Linked DNA regions of Homo sapiens: all the other regions are linked to region 5. Evidence: promoter capture Hi-C in 16 types of primary human blood cells and fetal thymus (Javierre and others, 2016). All regions are on one chromosome and are shown on one strand. Each heading gives the region's core, a stretch centred on a gene start or on the middle of the fragment in contact. The rest is flanking DNA. Distances are from core to core; before and after follow the strand shown.

Evidence for each region. The method cuts DNA at HindIII sites, captures the fragments that hold promoters and counts their contacts. A CHiCAGO score of 5 or more calls a contact.
Region 1: a fragment that was not itself captured here is called in contact with the fragment with the promoter of ECRG4 in region 5 in 6 of 17 cell types (activated CD4 T cells, total B cells, total CD4 T cells and 3 more); the score reaches 8.9 in activated CD4 T cells.
Region 2: a contact is called between a fragment that was not itself captured here and the fragment with the promoter of ECRG4 in region 5, in 6 of 17 cell types (total CD4 T cells, M1 macrophages, non-activated CD4 T cells and 3 more). The highest score is 7.4, in total CD4 T cells.
Region 3: a fragment that was not itself captured here is called in contact with the fragment with the promoter of ECRG4 in region 5 in 3 of 17 cell types (naive CD8 T cells, activated CD4 T cells and non-activated CD4 T cells); the score reaches 6.8 in naive CD8 T cells.
Region 4: a contact is called between a fragment that was not itself captured here and the fragment with the promoter of ECRG4 in region 5, in 11 of 17 cell types (non-activated CD4 T cells, naive CD4 T cells, naive CD8 T cells and 8 more). The highest score is 21.4, in non-activated CD4 T cells.
Region 6: a fragment that was not itself captured here is called in contact with the fragment with the promoter of ECRG4 in region 5 in 5 of 17 cell types (total CD8 T cells, total B cells, naive B cells and 2 more); the score reaches 8.1 in total CD8 T cells.
Region 7: a contact is called between a fragment that was not itself captured here and the fragment with the promoter of ECRG4 in region 5, in 14 of 17 cell types (naive CD4 T cells, activated CD4 T cells, non-activated CD4 T cells and 11 more). The highest score is 19.8, in naive CD4 T cells.

The regions. Positions count from the first base shown.
Region 1 is chr2:105,622,894-105,626,559 of GRCh38, forward strand. No RefSeq gene overlaps it. Among named protein-coding and RNA genes, the nearest start is that of LINC02946, 14 kb to the left of the region's middle. The HindIII fragment of the contact is 1,396 bases long and covers 1,181-2,576 here.
Region 2 is chr2:105,605,340-105,609,080 of GRCh38, forward strand. All of the region lies in intron 1 of LINC02946 (long intergenic non-protein coding RNA 2946), which reads right to left. Among named protein-coding and RNA genes, the nearest start is that of LINC02946, 3.3 kb to the right of the region's middle. The HindIII fragment of the contact is 801 bases long and covers 1,863-2,663 here.
Region 3 is chr2:105,660,580-105,664,132 of GRCh38, forward strand. No RefSeq gene overlaps it. Among named protein-coding and RNA genes, the nearest start is that of LINC02946, 52 kb to the left of the region's middle. The HindIII fragment of the contact is 1,910 bases long and covers 747-2,656 here.
Region 4 is chr2:105,570,460-105,573,887 of GRCh38, forward strand. No RefSeq gene overlaps it. Among named protein-coding and RNA genes, the nearest start is that of LINC02946, 38 kb to the right of the region's middle. The HindIII fragment of the contact is 5,756 bases long and covers 1-3,428 here.
Region 5 is chr2:106,064,321-106,067,783 of GRCh38, forward strand. It overlaps ECRG4 (ECRG4 augurin precursor), which reads left to right and starts at 1,368. Exons shown (of 4, transcript NM_032411.3): 1 at 1,368-1,523. The coding sequence starts at 1,445. The HindIII fragment of the contact is 9,592 bases long and covers 1-2,291 here.
Region 6 is chr2:106,537,287-106,540,905 of GRCh38, forward strand. It overlaps a transcript of CD8B2 not described here. Among named protein-coding and RNA genes, the nearest start is that of CD8B2, 52 kb to the left of the region's middle. The HindIII fragment of the contact is 1,663 bases long and covers 864-2,526 here.
Region 7 is chr2:105,588,388-105,592,107 of GRCh38, forward strand. No RefSeq gene overlaps it. Among named protein-coding and RNA genes, the nearest start is that of LINC02946, 20 kb to the right of the region's middle. The HindIII fragment of the contact is 3,593 bases long and covers 197-3,720 here.

The DNA.
Region 1 (3,666 bases), core at 629-3,128, 440 kb before region 5:
TCATGCCTATAATCCCAGCACTTTGGGAGGCTGAGGCAGACAGATCACTTGAGGTCAGGAGCTCGAGACCAGCATGGCCAACATGGTGAAACCCAGTCTCTACTAAAAATACAAAAATTAGCTGGGCATGGTGGCGTGTGCCTGTAATCCCTGCTACTTGGGAGGCTGAGACAGGAGAATCACTTGAACCTGGGAGGCACAGTTTGCAATGAACCAAGATTGCGCCACTGCACTCCAGCCTGGGCGACAGAATGGGACTCTTTCTCAGCTAAAGAAAAAAAGAAAATCTTGGCCTGGCATGGTGGCTCATGCCTGTAATCCCAGCACTTTGGGAGGCTCTGGTGGGTGGATCACCTGAGGTCAGGAGTTTGAGACCAGCCTGGCCAACATGATGAAACCCTGTCACTACTAAATATACAAAAATTAGCAGGGCGTGATGGAACATTCCTGTAATCGTAGCTACTCAGGAGGCTGAGACAGGGATTGTTGCTTGAACCCAAGAGGCAGAGGTTGCAGTGAGCCAAGATCAAGCCACTACACTCCAGCCTGGGTGACAGAATGAGACTCTGTCTCAAAAAACAAAAAACAAAGAAAGAAAGAAAGAAAAAAGAAAGAAAGAAAAAGAAAGAAAGAAAGAAAAAATCCATAGAGCAACTGACAAACAAGTGGCAGACAAGAAGTGGTGGACGAATGGACATGGAGAGCAGGCTACTCTGAGAGAGAAGGTACATTCATAACAGTGAAAGTCACACCTGAGGCCTCATCAGGGAATGGGGAGAAAGAGATCTTAGGGTGGGGGAGGTCAACAGTGCCCGAGAGGTGATAGTTGAATCATAGGGCTTATAATAAGAGATGCAAAACAGTGGCGTTTCAGGAAGGTCAAGACAAAAGTCCCTAGAGAAATCAAGGAGAGCCACATCTTCATCCAAGCAGGTCATATCACTTTGTTCTCTGAGCACCTTTGGAAGAAGACAAAGATGATCCTTTCCTCCTTCTTCTCAACCCACCTGGCTGATCTGTTCAAGTTGGAGACCATCTTTTGGGTCTCTGTATTTATAGGACCAACATGATCCTTAACCCAGTAAATAATTTTTTAATGTAATGAGACTGAAACTTGGGGATAATTTAGGCATCATTCTGTTTAGAGAAGTGCTTTAACTTTGAGGGTGATATTGGAGAAAGCTTTTATCCTCTTTCATTTTTAGGCTGTGTGCATGTGTGTGTGTGTGTGCAATAGAAGCCATGGGGTGAAATACATGAGGCAGAAGGCACTGAGCCCGTCCTTCCTGAAAGACAGTCCAGCAGAGCCTGCAGCCCAAGTTCTGGAACTAGTGTGCTATCTAATTGACCATGTGACCCGTTGCATGTTCCCTATTCCATCTTTATGTTGGTATCTTCTTTAAAAACAATTTTGGAATAGATACACTAAACTTATACTTCTTGGGCTTGGTGATTGAGCACTGAAATTTTCTGGGGCCATAGCTATCTTTTAAAAATATTATTATTGAACAGATGTTATGAATTTCATTTTGGAGGAGTGTATTCATCCCTATGGCTACTATAATAAATTACCACAAATGTAGTGGCTTAGAACAACACAAATTTACCATCCTATAGTTCTGGGGGTCGGAAGTCTGATATGAGTTTCAGCTGGCTACAATCCAGGTCTTGGCTGTTCCTTCTGGAGGCTCTAGGGGAGAATCTGTTTCCCCTCCTTTTCCAGCTTCTAGAGGTTGCCTGCATTCCTTGGCTCATGGTCCCTTCCTGCATCTTCAAAGCCAGCAACACCTGGCTGAGCCCTCCTCCTGCTGCCACCTCTCTGGCTCTGTACTTCCCTCATCACATCTCTCTCTAACCCCCCTGCCTCCTTCTTGTCCCTTATAAAGATTCTTGTGATATTTTGGGCCCAAGCAGGATTATCTCCAGTGTCGTTAACGTAATTATATCTGCAAAGTCCCGTATGCCATGTAAGGAACATACTCACAGGTTTTGGGAATCAGAATGTGGACATTTGTGGGGGTGGGAGTAAAGAGGGCATGATTCTGCCTACCCACCATGAGAAAGAGATGAACACACACACAGGCACAGGCTTGTGGGGGGAGCCTGGACTTTTCTCAAGATATGCAGAGAGATGCAAAGACAGCGTCTGCAGGATTCCTGCCTGATGGAATGTGGGTGCAGTTGCTTTCTTACTGGCAGCTGGCTCTGGTTCCTCACTAGGTGGATGGTTAGGGGAAGGAAAACACAAGAGCAGTCACTGAGATGGAAATGTGGTCATTTGGGTTTATGTGCTTCTGTGAGCAGAGGAGGAGAAGTTTCTCTGAGTTTGGACAATCTTCCATCTCTCTTATTAATCTGTGAAAGTCAAGAAAAGTCATTAGCTCAAGAATGCTCCTCATCCAATGCTCAACCTGTATATCCAGTCAAAAGATCATAGATCGAAAGCACTGGAACCTCCTCCAAAATGGTGGCCCCAGCCCCACAGCCTTATTTGGGAAAACTGAGGCTGAGAGAGGTGCCATAAACTACCCAGAGCTGGAAATGCCTGCCTTGAGTGGGCTTAAGCTGGAATGGAAAGCTTACAGAATTTAAGACTAGTGGATGGAGACTTTTGTAGAGAGAGACACAGTAGAAGTAACTGTTTTAGTTAGAAACATCTAGGCAGAATGAGAAGAAATAAAATCCCATTTTCAGGTCATTAGTTTTTTGTTTTATTGCAATGTGCTGTGTGTTCCAGGAAGATGGTGTCAGCAGGCCATCTGTAGGGCATGCAGGTGATCTTCCTGAGAGAGTGCTGGACGTGCCAGTGCAACCTTGTTTAACCCTCCTCGTTCCCAAAGGACCCTGCCTAAGAGACCACAGGCCACGGTTACACACACTCCACGCGGTGCCAAGTGAGCCACTGACAGAAGGAGAAAGAAACCACCCAGTGATGTCTGCCAAGCTCAGACACTTCCCCTCCAGCGCAGCGTCCTCTCCCCCGAGACTGTGCTCCCAAACCACTACTGTTCAACAAGCTTTCCCTTGAGTTAAACGTTACCTAAACGTTAAGCACAGTTAATGTTTATGACCTCCGAGTTGGAAAAATTAGAACTGACTACTACTATCTGTTGAAGGAGGTGGGCACTCAGTCACTGGGGATGGGGAAGAAGTGCTGAAATCTGGAAAATGGAAGTCCGGGAAACTCATTTCCTGAAGGTCTTGTATCTGCGAGGCACCGTGCTTTGCACATTCATTGAGTCTTTTCAACAACCTTATATTCCCAGGTATTGTTATCTCATGCAGAGAAGACTGAGGCTCACGGGATGGGGGCCAGCACTCACTCCTGGCCAGCCTATGTGGGGAGTGAAGTTGGGATGTAAGTCTGCTCAGACAGCACCTGTAATTCCTAAGTCCAAAATATTCCTCAGGTCTCGCTCTGGGACTGGGCACTGAAGGCAGCTGAGCAGAGGTTCACGGGCTCATGGCCTAATAGCTGTCACAGAACAGGCCTGCTTGTTTTGGAACTCTGAAAAGTCTCTTTTGTAGAAAATGCAAAATGAACCCGATTCGCATACACACAGTGTGTGGTGTAAGTAAGCCCCTTCTGCTATTTGAATGTTATTCAAATAAAGGATTACAAATCATCTCGCAGCTTACATTACCATTTCCAAATGCAAAAACAAA
Region 2 (3,741 bases), core at 1,013-3,512, 460 kb before region 5:
AAAATTCAAGAAGAAAATAGTTGGGAGACTTGCCCTGCAAAAAAATAAATGTTGCAAAGTATACAGAAAAAGGAAATAGAACAGAACAGAGCATCTGAAAGCAGCCTCAGGCATATGGAGGCTCGGGCTATAACAGAGACGGCGTGATACATTGCAGAAAGGACAGGTTACTCAGCAAACGGTGCTTGGAAAATTAACACTCAGTGCGGGAGAAAATACATTACTTTCTGAGGTATGAAAAATCTAAATGCAAAATCAAAACTTTAAAACAGTTGGAAGAAAATGCAAGAAAATATAGGCCAGGCGCAATCGCTCACACCTGTAATCCCAGCACTTTGGGAGGCCGAGGTGGGCGGATCACTTAAGGTCAGGAGTTTGAGACCAGCCTGGCCAACATAGTAAAGAGCTGTCTCTACTAAAAATATAAAAATTAGCCAGTGTGGTGGCGAGCAGCTGTAGCCCTAGCTACTCAGGAGGCTGAGGCAGGAGAATTGCTTGAAACCAGGAGGAAGAGGTTGCAGTGAGCCAAGATCGTGCCACTGACCTCCAGCCTGGCTACAGAGCAAGACTCTGTCTTGAAAAAAAAAAAAAAATCTCTTTATGCCATATACATGTACCCAAAACTGAAAGGGAAAGACTGATGTATTTGACTACAATTAGGTAAACTTTATTTATTTATTCATTTTTATTTTTAGACACAGAGTCTTGCTCTGTCGCCCAGGCTGGAGTGCAGTGGTGTGACGGCAGCTCACTGCAGCCTCAAACCCTTGGGCTCAAGGGATTCTCCTGCCTCAGCCTCCTAAGTAGCTATGACTACAGGAGTGCCCCACCATGCCACGCTAATGTTGTATTTTTTTATTATTTATTTATTTATTTTTGTAGAGACAGGGTCTCTCTTTGTTGCCCAGGCTGGTCTCAAATTCCTGGGTTTAAGTAATCCTCCTGCCGTGGCTTCCCAAGGTGCTGGGATTACAGGCATGAGCCACTGCACCTGGCCCCAAAATTTATCATATGAAAAGCCACCATAAACAAAGTGAATAGGCAAGTCACCAGTTAGAAAAAGATTTGCAATTTAGATAACCAGAAAAGGATTAGAACTTAGTATGTGTAAAAAATTCATACAAATCAGTAAGCTATAAACAGGCCAATAGAAAAAATGAGCAAGGGATATAAATGGATAAAACACAGAAAAGAAAAACTGAATAGCCTATATATATGAAAACATGATTATTCACTAGTAATAAGAAAAATGAGTTATTTTAGTTTATACTCAAAAGTATTGATGAAGATGTAGAGAAATGAGAACTCACAAACTGCTGGCAGAAGCGTGAACTGGCTCAAGACTTTGAAAGACAATTTGGCAATAGATGGTTAAGGGGAAGATGAGTATGTATCGTCTACCCGAGCAGTGTTGCTTTCATGGTTCATGCTAGAGAAACTCACACTTGGCCATGATGGCACATGTATAAAAGTGCTCATTGTAGCATTGCTTATATCAGAAGAAAAGGCAAAAATCAAAATGTCCATTAACAGTAAATAGGTAAATTATAGTATATTTATACAGTAGAATACTATACTTATCACACAGGATTAAAAGTTAATTAACTAAAGCAGCATACTTCATCATGAATGAATGTCAAAAACATAATGTCAAGTGGGAGAAAAGCAAGTTGCAAAATTATATCAGTTAAACCAATTATTTAAAATTGGTATATTATGTCTTTTGCAAAAGGAATCTCTTATCTCCTTTAACTCGTAAATCTATGAATCGGTAAGGCTTCTCTTCAAAATGTGATTTTTTCCCCTCCTCATGGATATAAAGAACTTTAAAAAAACCAAACTAATATTGCCCACAAGAGAGAAGCTTATTGCAAGCACCATTATTTTATGCAAACACTATTATATCCTGCTATATCTCATCAAGAATATTTGTGTGTCTGAGGAACATGTCAATATTATCTATAGGAAAAGTATAAAAACATAATCAAGAAGAACATTCACTAACCTCTGCATAGTTAGTTCCTAGTGAGGGAAGGAAGGGAATGACATCAAGAAGCCAAAGGCAATTCGATTGCATCTGTAGTTTCCATTCCTTAAAAAATATCTGAACCTAATTTACTAAATCTGGGTAATGGTATGATGAGAGTATATTATTTTCTGTACTCATTTGTCCTATTTTAAATATTTTTATTAAGTGTCCCAACCTGACTTTTTCTCCTTTCAACTAAGATACTGAAAGGCTTTTTGCCCCAGAACTACTTTTGAAAGGCTTTTTTCAAAAAAAGATACCAAAAGGCTTTTTGGACCCAGAGATATTTTTGAAAGGCTTCTTTAGGCCAGGTACCGTGGCTCATGCCTGTAATCCCAACACTTTGGGAGGCTGAGGCGGGCGGATCACTTGAGGTCAGGGGTTCGAGACCAGCCTGGCCAACATGGTGAAACTCCATCTCTACTAAAAATACAAAAAGTAGCCGGGCATGGTGGTGGGCTCCTATAATCTCAGCTAACTGGGGAGGCTGAGGCAGGAGAATTGCTTGAACCAGGGAGGTGAAGGTTGCAGTGAGCAGAGATTGCACCATTGTACTGTACCCTGGACAGCAGAGTGAGACTCTATCTTAAAAAAAAAAAAAAAAAAAAAAGAAGTAGAAATTCTGAGATGGAAAAGCTTTTTGCCCCAGAGCTTATGCTTTCACATGTCACTATTGCAGCTCCCAGCCCTGTGGGGTTTCACTCTAGGTGTTATCACTTGCTTTGATTATAAGACTCTAAACCACAGCCCTGGGTGAACCCTGGCCCATCTGGCATGAAGACAGAAGACCATCATACAATTGCCAGCCTCTTCTTTTCACTCATCCTCATAGTCAAGAAATATGTGTATGTGTCCACTGCAGCCTGTGTTTGCTCTGCCCCCTCTCTTCACGCCACACTCCCAGCTTGATGTTTGCCAGTTCATGCTTGTGCCAGTTGTTGGCACTTACTCTCTGGCGAGTGTACAGCTGACCTTACTGCCTCTGGCTCCTCCTTCCTGTGCTCTTGCTCTTCCATCCACCAACTTTATTAATACTCTGTTTTATGACCCAGGTTACCGAGGAGACCTCAAATCAGGGTGGAGAAGGTACGTCTGCATACCATGCTCTCCCTCCCCAACCTCTCCTCTGCAGGTCCATAGTCACCTATTCGTGATGCTCCTCAGACATGGCCATCCAGGCGTTGCCCACCTCTCGTTGTTGTGAAATACACTCAATTGCTATCTATTGATACCTATTTTTATATTTTACTACAGTGGCAATGAAAGAATTATTTGGGGGAGGATAGGTAGTAGGAATAGCTTTATTAAAAGAAAAATAAAGATCACAGATTTTGCTGTATACATTTCCAAATTCTTCATCACAGTTTTTTTTTTTCTTCACGAGGATTGGATTGTACTGCATATGGCACTTTGAAACCTGCCTTTTCCCTTTATGATTTATTCTGGGCACCTTTTTTTCAGATCAATGATTTTTTTTCTTTTTCTTTTCTTTTTGTTTTGTTTTGTTTTGAGACAGGGTCTTACTCTGTCACCCAGGCTGAGTGCAGTGGCCTCATCTCGGCTCACTGCAACCTCAACCTCCTGGGCTCAAGCAATCCTCCTGCCTCAGCCTCCCAAGTAGCTAGGACCACAGATGCGTACCACCACACTCAGCTAATTTTTTTTTTTTTTTTTTTGTAGAGACAGGATTTTGCCACATTGCCCAGGCTGGT
Region 3 (3,553 bases), core at 452-2,951, 400 kb before region 5:
TATTGCTGAGTGTGAGTGCACAACAGCTTGCTTGTCCATTCGTCATCACTTGACGAATATTTGAGTTATTAGGTTTTAGATATTGTGAATAAATCTGTTGTAAACATTTTTGTACAAGTCCTTCATGGAAATTGGTTTTCATTTTTTTTTAGGCACATACCTAGGAGTTGACTTACTGAGTCATGCTGGAGGTGTTTTACCTTACCAGTAACCGTCATAAACTCTTCCAAAGTGGCTGTACCACTTTGCACTGCCACCAACAAAATATGAGAGTTATGTTGCTCCATTTCCTCACCAATATTTGTGTTGTTGTTCCTTTCAATTTTAGCCATTGTAGTGGATATGAAGTGGTGGATTTTTAAACTTACATTTCACCTTTCCATGGACTTCCTGTCCATTCATGCATCTTCTTTGGTGAAGTATCTGTTCAAATCTTTTGCTCATTTTTTTAATTGTTAGTCTTTTTTAAAAAAATTGATTTGGAGGAGTTCTTTACATATAAATCCTTTGTCAAATATATATATATATATATATATATATATATATATATATATATATATATACTAAATATCTTCTCCCAGTCTGTGGCTCGCATTTTTATTTTTTTAGTGATCTTGTAAAGAGCAGGTCTTTAATTTTTATGAAATTAAAATAATATTTCTTTTGTGGTTAGTTCTGTTAGTGACCTTTCTAAAAAATGTTTACCTACATCAAGGTCATGAAGACATCTTATGTTTTGTTCTAGAAGCTTTAGAGCTACAGATTTTAGGCTTGATCTATTTTTCTTAAGTTAACTTCTGAGCGTGGTATGAGGTGGGAGTCTTGTTCCTCCCTCACCCCCTACATGTACATAACATACACATTTATCCAGTTGTTGCAGCATCATTTTTTAAATAGGCTATTGTTTCCTCATTAAATTGTTTTGGCACATTTGTCAAAAATCAATTGACTACATAAGTGTGTCTAATTCTGGGCTCACTGACTTCTTTGTCTGTCCTTATGCCAGTATCACACCATCTTAATTAATGTAGCTTTACCCAGAGTACAAGCTACATAATTTATGTAGCTTTATCTTGGAATCAGATAGCATGAGTCTTCCATTGTTTTTTTTTCAAGAATTTGGCCAGTCTAATCCCTAAGCCTAGAATTAACTTGTAAATTTTAGAATAAGTTCTGTGGAATTTTGATTGAGATTGAGTTGAATTATAGATCAAAATGACATCTCATCAGTAATGAGACTTCCAAATAATAAACATGGAATATCTCTTCATTTACTTAAGTAATTAATTTAATTTACTTAAGTTATTAAAATAATTAAGAAATTAATTCATTTTAGCAATATGTCTGTGTACAGGTCTTACACATCTTTTGTTAAATTTAGTCTGAATTATTTTATGGTTTTGATGGGACTTAATATAGAAATAAAATAGAATCTATTTAGGAAATAAAATTGCATAAAGAAATTTTATTAAAAAATTATTTTTGTATATTGACCTTGTATGCTGTGATCTTGCTTAATTTGTTAGTTCTAGCAGTTGCTCTGTAGACTTCAAAAGATTTTTCTATATACACAGTCACATCATCTGTGATTAAAATCAATTTCATACCTCCTTTTAAATCTGGGTCTCTTATTTTATTTTCTTGTCTTCTCACAGTTAGGGCCTGCAATACAAAGGTAGCTTGTTCCTGAGCACTCAATATTTCACCGTTAAGTATCTATAGAATTTCTGTAAATGCCCTTTATAAGTTTAAGAAAATTCTGTTCATAGTTTGCTGGGAATTTTGATCATGAATGGTTTTGGATTTTGCTGACTGCATTTTCTGCCTCTATTGGGGTAATCACCTATTGTTCTCTTCTAGCTTTGCAATATGATAAGTTACATTGATTGATTTTTCAATGTTAAATTCAGATAAGACAAACTCCACTTGAACATGATAAATTCTCTTTCAACACTGATGGACTTGATTCATTAGTACTTTATTAATGCGTTTCATTTTTATATTCATGAGGGATATTGGTTTGCAATTTTCTTTTCATGTGATCTGTATGTCAGGTGTGAGTATTAGTGTTATAGTAGCCCACAAGTGTATAGTGTATAGTAGGAAGTGTTTTCTTCTCTTCATTTTCTGAAACTTTGCGTAAAATTGGCATTATTTTTCATCAACCGATTGATAGACTTCATCAGTGAAATTATCTGAGCCTGGAGAGTTTTTCCTGGGAAAGATTTTGATTATGAGTTCAAGTTCTTGAAAGGTCACCAGTTATAGCCCTATTATGAGTTTTCTATTTCTTCATATGTCAGTTATTTCAAGTTGTGTTTTTCAAGAAATTTGACCATTTCATCCAAATTATTGAATTTACTTACATAAAGTTTTCTATAATTTTTTTATTGTCCTTTAAATGCCTACAGGATCTATAATGACAACATTTCTGATTTTCTTAATTTTGTGTTTTGTAACATTTTATCATGATTAGTCTTGCTAGGGGCTGATCAATCTTATTAAACTTTTTCAGGAACTAACTTGTGACTTTGCTTATATTCACTATTATATTTATGTTTTCTATTTCACTGACTTCTGCTTTTATCTTTGTGATTTCCTTCCTTCCATTCACTTTGGCTTTAATTTAGTCTTCATTTTGGCTTCTTAAAGCAAAAGCTTAGATTGTTGATTTTAAGCCTTTCTTCTTTTCTTCTATAGACATTTAAGCTAAACATTATCTTCTAAGCACTGTGTTAGCTGCTTCTTCCAATTCAATATGTCATGCTTCTTCCAATTCAGTATGTCACGTTTTCATCATTATTCAGGTCAAAGTATTTTCTAATTTCTCTTGTGATTTCTTCTTTGATATATGGGCTATGTAGAAGTGTGCTATTTAATTTCTGCATATTTGTGAATTTTCTAGAGGTCTCATTTTCATATTTCTAATTTAATTTTGTTGTGCTTAGATAACATTACTTAATCTTTTGAAAATTTTTGTACTTTATTTTATAACCCAGCACATTATCTAGCTTCATAAACACTTTGTGTATACTTAAAAAGAATGCATATTCTGTCGTTGCCGTCAACTTAAGTCAAATCGGTTGATATTGTTGTTCAAATCCGCTATGTCCATATTGATTTGTTTACCTAGTTCTATTAGTTTCTGAGAAAAGGATGTTAAAAATCTTCAAATGAAATTGTGCATTTTCTATTTCTTTCTTTAGTTCTATCATATATTTTGACACTTTATCATCACATACATACATACTTATAAAATGTATCCCTTTATCTCTGGTAATGATCCTTATGTTGAAGTCTACTTTGTCTGTGATTCTTCTAGCCACATAGCTTCTTTTTGCTTGGCTTTTGTGTGGTATATTTTCTTTCATTCTTTTTCTTTCCACTTATTAGAGTCTTTAGTGCACTTCTAGTAGGTACCATTAGTTGTGTCTTCCTTTTTTAAATCCAATCCAACAATATCCACCTTTTAATTACTGTTTAGTTTAACTACACTAAATTTAATTTGTTACATAGTAGAATTTAGGTACACCATTTTGCTATTTATTTTCTA
Region 4 (3,428 bases), core at 274-2,773, 490 kb before region 5:
TGAGCATGCTCACCCTCCAGGGGCTTCCCATCCCCTCAGAGCAACACCTGGTGACACGCTGCGGTGCACAGGCTCCGACACCACCCGGTGTCGCTCCCTTCCAGATCCACCGCCTTCTACTCCATGCCTTTCCCACTGAGTCCCATCACAGGGTCTCCCTGTTGTTCTTGAATATTCTCTCCCCCAGAGCCTCTGCACCAGATTGCACACCCCTCCATCACCAAATTCACCAAGATCTCTGCTCAAATCCCACCTCTTGGAGTGGGGTTTGGGGGGCTTTCCTGGCCCTTCAATCTCTATCAAGAATACTCTCCCTCCCCTACCAGCTTTCCTCTGCGGCCTCCTACCTGGCCTTATTTTTCTACCCATCACTTATGGCTACCTAAAATTACTGCTTGTTTTTGTTTCTCTGCCTCCTCCCCTGTCCTCCCCTGGAATCTAAGTCCCTGCAGGACAGAAGGTGCCTTGCAGCTGCACTGCTGGCTCCTGGAACAGGGTTGGCATGACCGCGGCCAGGCAGGTGCTCCATGTGTGCTGACTGAGTCTTCATTAAAAGCTGCACAACAAACACAATGAAGTGTTTGTTAATTTAACTTTTTAAAATTATGGTAAAATAGATGTAATATGCAATTTCTATTTTTGACATTTTCAAGAATACAGTTCGGTGGCATTGAGTACATTCACTTTGCTGTGCATCTATCACCACCATCCACCTACAGGACATTTTTGTCATCCCAAGCTCTGCACCCATTAAATGCTAACTCCCCTTCTTCCTCCTCCCAGCCCGACACCCACCCCCCACCATTCTACTTTCTGTCTCTGTGAATCTGACTACTCTAGGGATGTTAGGGACGTCATACAAGTAGAATCATGCAGTATTTTTCCTTTTGTGATGGCTTATTTCACTCAGCGTAATGTCCTCAAGATTAATCCATATTGTAGCATGTGTCAGGGCTTCCCTCCTCCTCAAGGCTGAATAATATTCCACTGCATGTCTAGACCACATTCTGTTCTCCCATTCAACTGTCAATGGACATTCGAATTGTTCTCATTCAACTTGCAGCCACAGTGCTTGCAAAATATGAAGTACGAACAAAAGGATACAGGGCGATCCAGTGCGATCCAGTGTCACCAAGAGCCCCAGTTTTCCAGGAAGCCAGCAAAGCAGGACATTCCAAGGGTCCCTGTGGAGGCCTTGGGGCAGCAGGGTCAGAACTGAGAGGCCTGGATGTGTGGCAGGCACGGAATGACCGATTTCATCAGTAGCATTACACTGAGTAATCACCAACCACCAACTCCTTCAATTACTACCACAACGCGGCTGAGAAGAGGAAGATCTGAAGAGGAAGAGAAACGTGTGGTCTTCTTCTGCCCTGGTTTGAGGCTGAGGTGTCCCTGGTAGCCCTGAGGGGCCTCCTGGCTGTCCTTGGCAGGTGTGGCTGTCCTCACTGGCCACTGGCTTTCTCCTTACACCTACCCAATGCCCCCCATGAGGCTGACTCCCCCTTCTCACCTTTCCCTCTCCCCACTCACCTGCCAGCCCTTCCCATTAGGACCCCAGAGCCTATATGAAGGAGCAAACGGGCTCACTGTTTTATTTCTTTAAAACTTAAGACCCCATGAAACAAAGCAAGGTCTGGTCATATTGGGTTGTGTCACAGTTTGAAAAAGGCAAGGTCATGTCTGCAAGAATGACTCTGCTGCTAGGAGGGCAAGAAGGCTGGGATGGCCAGGCTAGAGATGTGTGGTGGGAATTTGGGGAAGAGAGGTTGGTTAAGGAAGGGAGAACCAATGGTGAAAGGACTGGAAAGAAGACACACAGGGAAAGGTGGTGTTCTCTACCGAGGGGAGGCCTGTCTTGGGTAGGGCTTAGGAGTGAAGGAAGGGGGATGTCTCATTCAGCCTCCATTCTGAATACCCTCTAAGTTATCTCAATAGGACACGTGGCTCCTCAAAGTGAGGTCTATGGGTAGGGCTGGTCTCTGACTGTCTGTTACCAGCCCTCAATGAGAAAAGCACAGAAATGAGAGTCAAGTGAGTAGAAACTTGTGCCTTTGGCGTGGCTGCAGCAGCCACTAGCTGCAATCAGTGGCCTTGGCTTGTGGGTGGGTCTGAGACCAGGGCAGGTGCTGTTCAGCATGTGCTGAGATGCAGGCAGTATGAGTCACGTGCTGTCAGGGACTGTTGGACCTTCAGGGGTCTGGGAGAGGTGGAGGACACTGGTTTTCACTACAGCCGGTTTGAGGAGGTGTGCCCTGAGCCATGCTCCATGACCCCGCACACTGGCATCTCCTCCAGAGCCTGTTCCCAACCTGGGCACCAGGTGATGTCATTGGCCTGCATTTCGGGGCATATGTGCACAAAAGAGACCTCTGTCCACCCTAGACTCACATTCTACCCAATGGGGGGAGCCTGGGACCAAGGCGATCTGAGGAAACAGCAAAGTCCCTCCTCCAATTTCCTCTTGCTTGAGTGTTCTCTCTGAGTAGAATGGGGGGAGGTGGGGTGGAAATGTCCCTATTTCTTAATCCCTTTAATTTATTTAAATTGGTCTCTCTCCACACATGCAATTGAATGTGCACAAGTTTGTATGTATAATTTGACTCCACTGTAGAAGTTACCACCCAAGCAAAAACCAGACTGATCACGTGCTCAGCAGGAACCAGGCACTGGGATGATGGCTTTGCAAGAGCTTTGACTCCTCACATCGAATCTGTGAGGAAGGTGCTGTTACTATCATGCCCACTTCACACATGGGTTTTAGCTCTTCCCACCAACTGTTGTTGGTTGAATCGTGCCCTTCCCCTTCCCCTATGTACACCTAGTAATATATGTTCAAGTCCTAACCCTTAGTACCTGTTAATGTGATCGTATTTGGAAATTGAGTCTTTGCAGATGTAATCAAGTCAAGAGGAGGTCATTAGAAAGGGCCTTGATCCAGTATGACTCACGTCCTCATAAGGAGGAATCTGGACACAAACACACAGAGAGGGAAGACAATGTGAAGAGACGCAGGGATAAAATGGCCATGTGCAAACTGAGGATTAAAATGATGCATCTACAAGCCCCAGAATGCCAAAGCCTGCAGCAACCACCAGGAGCTAGAGAGGGGCAACGAAGAACTCCCCTACTACTTTCAGAGGGAGTGTGGCCATGCCAACACCTTGGCTTCAGACTTCAGCCTCCAGACTGTGAGACAATCCATTTCTGTTGCTTTAAACCACCCGGTTTTGGGGATTGGTTTGTTTGCTTTCGTTTTTGTTTCTTTGCAGCGTTAGCAAACGAATGTACCCTGTGCCTGGATATAACCAAGTAACCTAGGCCTGGCCAAACAGAGTCCCTTAACCACCCTCTATCCACTATGATTATAGTTCAGGAAGGAGCAAGGAAGTTGAGTTGATTGGAAGCATCATAGCTTTTTCCATAAC
Region 5 (3,463 bases), core at 118-2,617:
ATTCAACTGCATTGCATGGAGAGCTAATTATATGGAGAGACAGTAAGTGCTTACCACTGGAGGGTATAAAAATACTGGCCGGTGTGGTGGCTCACACCTGTAATCCTAACACTTTGGGAGGCCGATGCGGGTGAATCATTTGAGTTCAGGAGTTCAAGACCAGCCTGGCCAACATGGTAAAATCCCTTCTCTACTAAAAATACAAAATTAGCTGGGCCTCGTGGCACATGCCTTGTAATCCCAGCTACTCAGGAGGCTGAGGCAGGAGAATCGCTTGAACCCCGGAGTTGGAGGTTGCAGTGACTGAGATCCCATCACTGCACTCCAGCCTGGGCAACAAGAGTGAAACTCCGTCTCAGGGAGGGGAAAATAAGTGAGAACCTTGGTGAAGGAAAGAGGTAATCAGCTCAGTTCAGGGCAGATCTGAGATGGGAAGACAGGAAAGGTAATCTCACATCTCCATCCTTTTGTAGCCCAGGCCTGGAGAGAATAATTAGGTGACCCGCTCAGAGTCCGTTGGGATAAAGTTGTTCTAGTTTTTGTTCACTACGCCTCCTTTCACGTGTCCTCTACAGTTGAACAGGCCAGTTACTGGGATGCAGTTCTGCGTTTCCCTTGGGTCTCACCTTAACATCGCTCGCTGAAGTGTGCCCAGATTACAGAGCGGGCAAAGGGAAGCAGTGGTTTTGCTCACAGCTGCAGGGCACCAGGTTCCTGGTTTCTCAAAGGCTTTTCTATTGGAGAAGTTTGGGTGAGACGATTTCCCGGACTGCAGCTCTGAACCCAGACTGTGGAATCTTTCAAACTATCTCAAAAACAGCCCCGCCTAAGGCATCCTTAAGAGCAGCTCTGAACTAAGGAAATTCCAAAGCCCACTTTACAAACCAGGCAGAAGCAAGGCCCCCAAGCAGGGAGGGAGGGAGATAGGGAAGAAAGGGGTGAGGAGTAAGGGGAACAGTGGCGCGGCTGGGGCGGGCGGAGGAAGTGGGGGAGCCAAGGAGACACCCCAGCGCTGGGATCCGGCAAGTCCTCCCTCTGAGTGGCCAGGGGGCCTCGTCCCTTCTCCCGATGCCTTCTGCCCTTCCTTGGGTCTCCGGAACCCAGCTTGTCCTAACCGCTTTCGCTGCGGGCAGCGCTGGCCACGCGGCCCCCGCCGCCGGCGGTTCTCCGTGGCCAAGCATCCTTGGCCTTGGAGCCCAGGGGCTGCGTTCCCCTTGGGGCCGGGGCGGGAGAGAGGACCTCGGTGGTACTCGCCCGTGCGCTGGGCGCAGCCGCTTGGCCCTCAGCCCTCTGGCGCGGCGCCCACCCGCTGGGTCCCGCCCCGGCAGCGACGCAGGGATAACCCGCGGCCGCGCCTGCCCGCTCGCACCCCTCTCCCGCGCCCGGTTCTCCCTCGCAGCACCTCGAAGTGCGCCCCTCGCCCTCCTGCTCGCGCCCCGCCGCCATGGCTGCCTCCCCCGCGCGGCCTGCTGTCCTGGCCCTGACCGGGCTGGCGCTGCTCCTGCTCCTGTGCTGGGGCCCAGGTGAGCGGGGCGATGCCAGGCTGATTGATAGCGGCACCAGGGGTTGGCCCCATGTGGCGCTTCCATGGTGCCCGGGGAGAGCGATCGGTGATGGGGTGGCGGCGTAGGGACCCATCCTTAGCCTAGGCAGGGCCAAGGGGTGGTAGAGGACCGGGTCTGGGGTTTTGCACTCGCACAAGTGCGAAGTGGTGCCCTTGTGAGGGTGGAGAGAGTACCGGGGTCAAGGGGAGGGTCTCAGATCTCCCGGGCAACCTTGGGCAAGGAGGGCCAGGCGTCCGAAGGGTGGGCAAGTAGTGTTTCGTGGCTTAACGTAAGGGGCAAAAGGGTTGTGGGGGCTTTACGCAGCTGGTAACCCAGAGGAGGCAAATGGCACCATCACCGCCATTCCCTTCCAGGCAGTCGCTTAGCAACCAAGTTGACTTGCGCTTCCCAGCTGGGTCAAGTTGCAATTTGCAAAGCTGGGCACAGGCCTCACACCCCAGAGAGGGGAAAGGCTCTTAAAGGAGTAATGCTTAATCTTTCCTGCTTCGTGGAGCTCCCAGCGAATCGGTTGAAAACTCTGAAATTCTCTGCTCGCTCTCTGTAAAACGTGCATTCACACGCACACCCAGAATGATGGGTGCTCCGATATCTGATCGCTGGGCTCCACAGGCCCCACTTTAGGAACCATAATCTGAAGCCGTGGTTTGTCCTGAGTTACCACCTTCACTGGGTAGGAGGAACATTTATGGTTCACAAGTGGCCTCAAGGACACATGACTGCCTTTGAAGCTTACAACTAGGGGAGGCAGGGATTGTTACCTCAGAGTTACTGGTGTATGAAGTGACTTGCCCAAGAGCCTGAGACTGGCGCTGTCCCACTGCAAAGCAGCTGGGCACTGCCTAATGTAAAAGGGAGGCTCACTCGGTTGCTCAGTTTCTGTATTTTGCTCATTCGAAACAGGTATGGAAACTGAACTCGAGGTGAGAAGAGGCAGGGGACATTCAGTAGGAGCCCTGGGATGGAGCCCCGGGGTTGCTAAAACAGCAGGAGGCGTGGTGAGGTCTGTTCAGGTGGGGAGGATTATTGTTCCACCTTAGAATCACAGGCGAAGCTAATCAGTCATTTCCCGTTGTATGGTTTACCTGCCTCCCACTCTTTGTTCTTGCCACTTTAAGAAGCACATCTGGGCCGGCCTTGGTGGTTCATACCTGTAATCCCAGCACTTTGGGAGGCCGGGGGGGGGGGGGGGGCAGATCACCTGAGGTCGGGGGTTCGAGACCAGCCTGACCAACATGGAGAAACCCCGTCTCTACTAAAAATGCCAGACGTGATGGCACGTTCCTGTAATCCCAGCTACTCGGGAGGCTGAGGCAGGAGAATTGCTTGAATCTGGGAGGAGGAGATTGCGGCGAGCTGAGATCGTGCCATTGCACTCCAGCCTGGGTAACAAGAGTGAAACTCCGTCGCAAAATAAAAAAAGAAATAAATAAAAGAAGAAGAAGAAAAAAGCACATCTGAATAAGTCAAGTGAGCACTGGCTACAAGCCATTTATTTTCAGGACTTGTATTTTATTTAGTTTATACCAATAACTCAGTTAAAATATCATCACCGAGCTGGGATGTGAAAGTTCTTATACAGTGAAAATATTTTTTTTTTTTTTGAGATGGAGTTTTGCTCTTGTTGCCCAGGCTGGAGTGTAATGGCGTGACCTTGGCTCACTGCAACCTCCGCCTCCCAGGTTCAAGCGATTCTCCTACCTCAGCCTCCCGAGTAGCTGGAATTACAGGCATGTGTCACCACGCCCAGCTAAGGTTTTTGTTTTTGTTTTGTATTTTTAGTAGAGATGGGGTTTCTCCATGTTGGTCAGGCTGGTCTCAAACTGCCGACCTCAGGTGATCCACCAATCTTGGCCTCCCAAAGTGCTGGGATTACAAACATGAACCACCATGCCCAGCCT
Region 6 (3,619 bases), core at 445-2,944, 470 kb after region 5:
GATGTCATACCCTGGAGACAACTTTCATTTCCCTAAACTTGCACTTCCCTAGTAGTCCTAGTGAAGCTCTTCAGTTTCAGAGTTTACATTTCCTTGTATGACCACAAGCTTGAACTTCCACTGAGGAGGCAGAAAATTATGGTTCAACGCCACCAAGACACGACATCTTAAAAACAGCTTATCTTACTTAATTTTAAGTACAGTATGCACAGAAATCCCCAAATGAGGTTAAGAGAGGTGTGTGGCACACTTGCACAGATTTCTCATTTGAATCCACATATGCTTAAAATCTCTTTTTACTTGGTGTAGAGCTTGGTTCTATAAGTGCCCTTCAGCTCTCTAAACACCAGATTGTAGCTCCTTGTGGAATGCCCGAGGAAGCGACAAGGAATGAAAAGAAGAGCATGGCTGTTCTTACTGAAGTGGCGGTCGATTTCTAAAAGCCCTTGCAGAGGATTTCTGTTGTTGCCACCTCTAATTAGTACTGCTGGGATTAAACTTAATAGGTTCTGAAGATAAAGTTAGCACGAAGGAAAAACAAACACACTGACAAAGCACATTCAGAATCAGCCGTGGGACAGCCGTCACGCCTGCTTGTTGCTAAGCTAGCTTCAGGCACCTCGCTTTGGAAATTAGCAGGGTAATGAATGTAAAATAAATGAGAAGTCTCTGTGAGGCTCCTTTTCTGACCTGCGCTGAGAGCTGGTGGATGCATGGCCCCAGAGGAGTCTCAAATGCTCAGTGATTGCGGAGGCCTGCGGACCTTCAGTGCTCAAAGTGTTTGCACGCATCTGGGTGTGCCCAGACAAAGCTGCTGGTCTAGGGAAGCGTAAGTCATCAGCTTGACTACCAAAGACCTTGCAAGCTTCCTCATGGTGGCACAAAACTAGCCAATATGACTCAATTCCCAAATAACACTTGCCAGTGATTTGAGAAACGGGAAAATACGGTATAGGCAGGGTGGTCAACTCAGGGGCTGAGGAAGGTTTAGGCTGTGAAGGGGAATTTTGAGATGGAGCCTTCAGCCTATGTAGGCTATGTATACATGAAGAATATTCATCTTGTTGCTTTTTGCTTGAAACGGTACACAAATGGCCTGCTTTTCTCTTTACTTGTTCTTAAAATTGATCAGAAGTAGCTTTCTTGGCTTGTTTCATAAGATCTTAGGACTTGAGCATCTACTATTAGCAGTGATTAAAATTTCCCCATGTTGTAATAAGGGTGACTGTGAATCTGTGTGGCACTTGAGATCTCACAAAGTGCATTTACCTTGGAAAATTCACCTTTGCGCTATCTAGAGCCGAGCAGTGTCCTGAGTAGGAATTCCTGTCTGTAACACCCTTCCCCACCTCCTACTCCCCAGATGTTCACCTGCATGTCACTATCTCTGGTAATAGCTGGCTTCCGTGTGTCCAGGCACTCCTGGGTCTTGGCCACATATTTTCAAAGGTCTGGCTCTTGGCATCTGTGCTGAGCTTGGACCCCTCCCTCTTCATATTATGCTCTCCACCCACCCACCCTTCCACACTGCCTCAAGGCTTCCCCTGGGGGCCTTCCTTGCCCTTCCTCATCAGGCCGGGCACTGCCATCTGAAACAGTCTCATATGCAGTGTGTCCCCCTCCCAGAGCTTGTGCACGGTGTGACTGTTTATCTGTGTGACTGCATGTGTGTGATCAGTAGCTCATGAACTAGTGACACATGAGGACTTCAGAGCCGGGTTCTTGCAGCTGGTGTGTGCTGGCTGAACTTCTGACTCTACCTGGTCACAGCGCAAGTGAACACGTGTTCACTTACACACCTTGGCCTCACTCATTTCAGGGCCAGGGCAGTGCCTGCCCCATGGAGTTGCTGTGTTGATGAGTGAGGCACATGAAGCACTTAGCAGAGTGCCTGGTGCCCCCACAGCACTCGGGGCCCATGTGTGGGTCTCACCTGTGTGCTGAGACCTCCTGTGTCTCTTCACCACTGTGTCTCCAGCAGGTATCACAGCACCTAGCACAGGGCAAGCTCCTTATAAATTTGTGAAATAAATGGATGAATAAGTGAGTTCAAGGGGAAATATATATATTGGTCCCAAAAGGCAAACATATTTATATTTCTAAAATTTAGAGAACTACTTTATGGAATTGAAGTAAAGATGTTTCTTGTTTCCACGCCAAAACATGGAAAGTTGATGTACTTGGGACACAATACCATGTGTGCGGTGTGCTCATCTTTTATTCTGAAGACAAATAAGGGGTCTTACTGTGGAATTAGGGGGCCACACGGGGCTGCAGCTTCTGGGCATCATTGCTCTTTGCTGCTTAATTCCAGCTTACAGGATGTTTCACACAAACACCAAAAACATTTTTAAGATGGACCATATCATATTTATCATTGTCTCTACAGTGTTTGGCTTCAATGCATCAAACTTCAAAATATGTGTTTGCTTGAATTCCAATTTCTTGACGGATACACGGCTTGGAAACCAAGCCTCCTTTGGCTGATAAAATAAGAACAGAATCTGACACTTAAAAAATTATTTAAGCTTTGCCAAGTGGGAAAAAAAAGTGTATTCTCCTACTGCTGAGCATCTTGGCTAACTTAATCACTGTTCCCGTCACTGAATCTCCCTTTTTTGTCATGGGACTTCCTGATCGTTAAATCTATTTCATAGTAAACATAAGTGAATTTTGGTTTATTGTTATTCTTGTTTACATTGAGAATTAATTTTGAGTGGAAATTATATACTTCATGTTATGTAGATGAAGTTAGGGTGGATGTTATATTCCAATAATTTTATGGCTTGAAAGAAATTCAATTTTGTTATGTGGAATGATTTCCTAAGAATGAAAAAAGAAAATGACAGCTTCAATGATCAAAGAAAGAATCATGCAGAGAATCGTTTATGTAGACCTCTCAAATTAAAAAAAATATCCAAGTATTACTGTTTCTTAATTATGTGGTCTCAAGATGAGTGTTGGAATAATTATGTTATTAGAAACTCAGCCTTTGTGAGAAATTCGTATTTTCATTATTTTATTTAAAAAGCTTTTCAACATTTCTTACTGCAAAGAAATGACAATTAGCCCTAGGAGACCAGCCCACCAAAGGCGCATTAATGTCAATCTCAAAACAGATAAAAATAGGACCAAGAATGAAGTCAACTGGCAGTACCACTCCCTCATTTAGCAAGTCGGCTTGTTGTTCTGGGTGAGCCAAGCAGGCAAACCCCCTGCTTTCAGGACTTTCACAGTCTTGAGGGGGAAAAAGTAAATCAAGCAAATAATCATCCAAATACTCCTTTTTTTTTTTTGAGATGGAGTCTTGTTCTGTCACCCAGGCTAGAGTGCAGTGACGCAATCTCAGCTCACTGCAACCTCTGCCTCCTGGGTTCCAGTGATTCTCCTGCCTCAGCCTCCTGAGTAGTTGGGATTACAGGCGCCTACCACCACGCCAGGCTAATTTTTCTATTTTTTGTAGAGATGGGGTTTCACCATCTTGGCCAGGCTGGTATCGAACTCCTGACCTTGTGAACCACCTGCCTCGGCCTCCCAAAGTGCTGGGATTACAGGCGCAAGCCACTGTGCCCGGCCCCAAATACTCTTATAACTACCTTTTGCAGTAAGTATTCAAAGT
Region 7 (3,720 bases), core at 743-3,242, 480 kb before region 5:
GGTGGATGGGAATTTTCAGTGACACTTTTGTCCTCCGAGTGATATGCAGATACCTCGCTTTTGAGAACTTGTCACTTCGGTTGGACAACAACCACTCTCCAATTATGCTACTGCTTTACGGCTTTGAAAAAGTAGGAAGTATATGAGTATGTTTCTAGGGCAGGAAATATGGATAATAATTAGAGTTAATGAATAAAGCTTCCAATGTTAGCCAGGGTAGCATGAGAATTAATTATAAATTTGATTAAAGAGATTAGAGTTCATTAAAAGTTAAGTGTTCTGCTTCCTCATGTTTTGATCTCAGGTTAGTGAATGAGGTTCGCTGTTGAGGAGTGTGCTCTACTCGAGATCCCCGAGCTAAAGCTAAATCAGGTTAAGTACATCCTTTCCTTGCCTCCCAAACTCCCAACCTAGGAGTCATGCATAATTTCCATGCACATGCAGGGGATGAAATCTCTTTAATCCTTATGACTTTTCCCTCGGGCCTGCCACTCTCACTGAATTCTGTGAATTTTTAATTAACCTAGAGTTGAAGATGTATAGGCAGTTATATATCCTCAAAGATTCAAATGGTTTTTCAGCTCCCGTTTGAATGGCTCTTCTAACAAGGCCTGAAATAAAGCTGTGTGAAAAACAGAAGTCCGAAAGAGTGCTCACTTTAGAAAAATTGAAATAAGCAATTATTATAGTTAATATTGACAAAAACAAGAGCTAGGGAACAAAACCAGTTTTTAGTATTGTGCTGGTGATTTCCATGTGCCCCACCATGCACTCATTCTCAGTGTTTCCCTGCCCCTTGTGCCCCAGGGGTTGAACCTTCCTTGGCTGCTTCTCTTGGGCTCCTTGGCCCTTTGCCTTCTGGTTGGGGGCTTAGATTCAGTGGGTGGTGGCAGAGGTGGGGAAGCTGGGTAGCCAGTGGCTGCCTCTTTGGTTACAGGTTACAACTCCACTTGTTCTGGCCCCAAGCTCTCTCTGGGCTCCAGTAACATTGCTCCTTTCTTCTGCCCCTTCAGGCCCAAGGCAATAACAGCTTCCCACATATACGAGTCACCATCCTTTGTTGGTTCCATTAAACCCATCTGAAGAGTTGTTTAATGAAACTTTCTTCAATGAAACTTTCAGAATGTGCCAACTGCTTTCTGCCAAGATCCTGAACTGATCTGAATCAGGTTTTTGGCCATGTCATCTACGTGTCTCCCTGTCTCCTATGTGTCTCCCTGTCTCTCCCACCAACTTACAAGTCTCTGAGGGCAACATATCTGACTTACCATAGTTGTGTCCCCAGTGTTTAGAACATCACCTGGTCTACTATAAGCATTCAATATTTGCTTGATGGATGAAACAGTGTACCCATTAGTGAATTCCTAGATGTGGTGCTTTATTTTTGGGGAAAAGTTGAGGTTATCTAACATCCAGACCAGAAGACATGAGTGGAAATGGTATAGTTTGGGACAGAGACATGTGCCACTGTCTGTGGTTGGCAGTCATTAACATGTTTGGGTCAAGCTCCCTCCTTCACCCCACACAAATCTCCATTAGAGCCTTATAAAACCAACTGCTTCAGAAACCATTTCATCTGAAGAACTGGATACAGAAGCTCATATGCACAAAACATGGCGTGGGTTTGGACACCAAGTCTATCATTTAGATGCTTTTGGCCATTAACAGCATATTTAATTTCCAGAGGCTTAAAAAATAAAGATTATTACTATCTCATGTAATAAAAGTCCTGGAGGTTGGGGTGCTTCTTCTCTTTTGTCCTTTCCACCCCTCCCCAATCTCCCCAGTATGGCCACAAGATGGTGGCCACTGCCCTAGGCACAATCTTCACACAAGTCCACCAAAAGGCAGGAAAGGAGGCTCTTTTTGCTTGTTTCATTTTATTAGGGAGTCCTTCAGCAGACACACCCTCACATCCATTGGCCTTGATTGGCTCTCATGCCCATCACCTAGCTAGCTGCAAGAGAGGCTAGGGAAGAGAGTCTCTGTTTTTTTGTTTTTTGTTTTTTTGACAGTGTCTTGCTCTGTCACCCACGCTGGAGTGCAGTGGCGCAATCTCGGCTCACTGCATCTTTTGCCTCCCAGGTTCAAGCGATTCTCCTATCTCAGCATCCGAAGTAGCTGGGACTACAGGCATGCACCACCATACTTGGCTAATTTTTGTATTTTTAGTAGAGATGGGGTTTTGCCACACTGGCCAGGCTGGTCTCGAACTCCTGACCTCAAGTGATCCTCCTGCCTCAGCCTCCCACAGTGCTGGGATTACAGGTGTGAGCCAATGCACCTGGCCGAGTATCTGGTGCTTTCAGCCTTTACAGTGAGAGGTTATCTCCATCAGTGCTTTAGACTGAGTGTTTTTGTCCCCCACATTTATATAATGAAGCTCGTACCCACAAGGTGATGGTATTAGGAAATGGGGCCTTTGGGAGGTGATTCAGTCATGAAAATAGAGTCCTATCAATGGGATTAGTGCCTTATAAGAGGAGACACAGAGCTTGCTGTCTCTCTGGCCTCTGCCATTGAGGATACAATGAGAAGAAGGCCATTCGTAAGCCAGGAAATGGGTCCTCGCCAGACATTGAATCTGCTGACACCTTGATCTTGAATCTGCTGACACCTTGATCTTGGACTTCACAGCCTCCAGAACTGTGATGAATAAATGTCTGTGGTATAAGCCACACAGTTCATGGTAATTTGTTATAGCAGCCTGAACAGATTAAGACAACCAGCAAGGAAGAAGGAGTAGAAGAAAAGCTGTTGGATGAACAACTAACAGTGTCAGCAACATAAATCAAAGAAGCAGATGAGAAGAATGCCACAATCGCTGAGGTTTCCACACATGCTCGATAGAGAAAGTTACTTTTTAGCTAAACTTAACGTGCATTCTTCATGTGGGTTGATTTATTTGAATAGAGAAACTCCAGGAGAAACCATGGTGATGTCAGTCTGTCCCTCTGTAAGATGAAAATAATGATGCTGACAGCTGTTTCACAATGAAATGTAGGTTACAAGTAAATATTTATAAAGGCATTATGAGATCCAAAGATAAAAGCTGTCATGGCACTAAAAATACATACACACCCTCACACCTGACACTGTTCTTTCTTCTCAGTTGTATTTTCATCACCATCAAGAGTATATTCACAAAGCCCTTCACATTTCACACAACGCTTTTGCACACACTGCCTTAGTAAATTATCTTGAACACACCCGGAATGGTTCCTATGATGATGTGTTTGTCTTGCGGATGAAAAGAGCAGCTAGGTAAGGAAGCTGGGACTTGAACCCAGGTCCTCTCACTATTAAACCTGAGGGGTTTTTCTCAGTGCCTTTGTAAGGAGGCAGGTAACGCAAAGGTAGGACAATGGGGAGTGTGAGGACATGAAGACCCGGAGATGAAGATATTCAACACAGATTCAGATCCAATTTTTAAAAACTGCTCTGTTTATGCCCTCCAAAATTATAAATACATGTGTCCTTTGACTCAGCAATTCCACTTCCAGGAATTTATCCTACAGATATACTCATATATATGCAAAACAACCCAATGGTCATCGATTGGAGACTAGTTAATTAAATGTTGGTAAGTCTGTACAAAGGATTAGTATGCAGCTATTTAAAAGGGCATAGCTATTATCATGCTAATATGAATCTATCTTCAAGATATACAATAAAGTGAAAAGAACATTTGTGCATACCAGTACATATTTTCTTGCATGT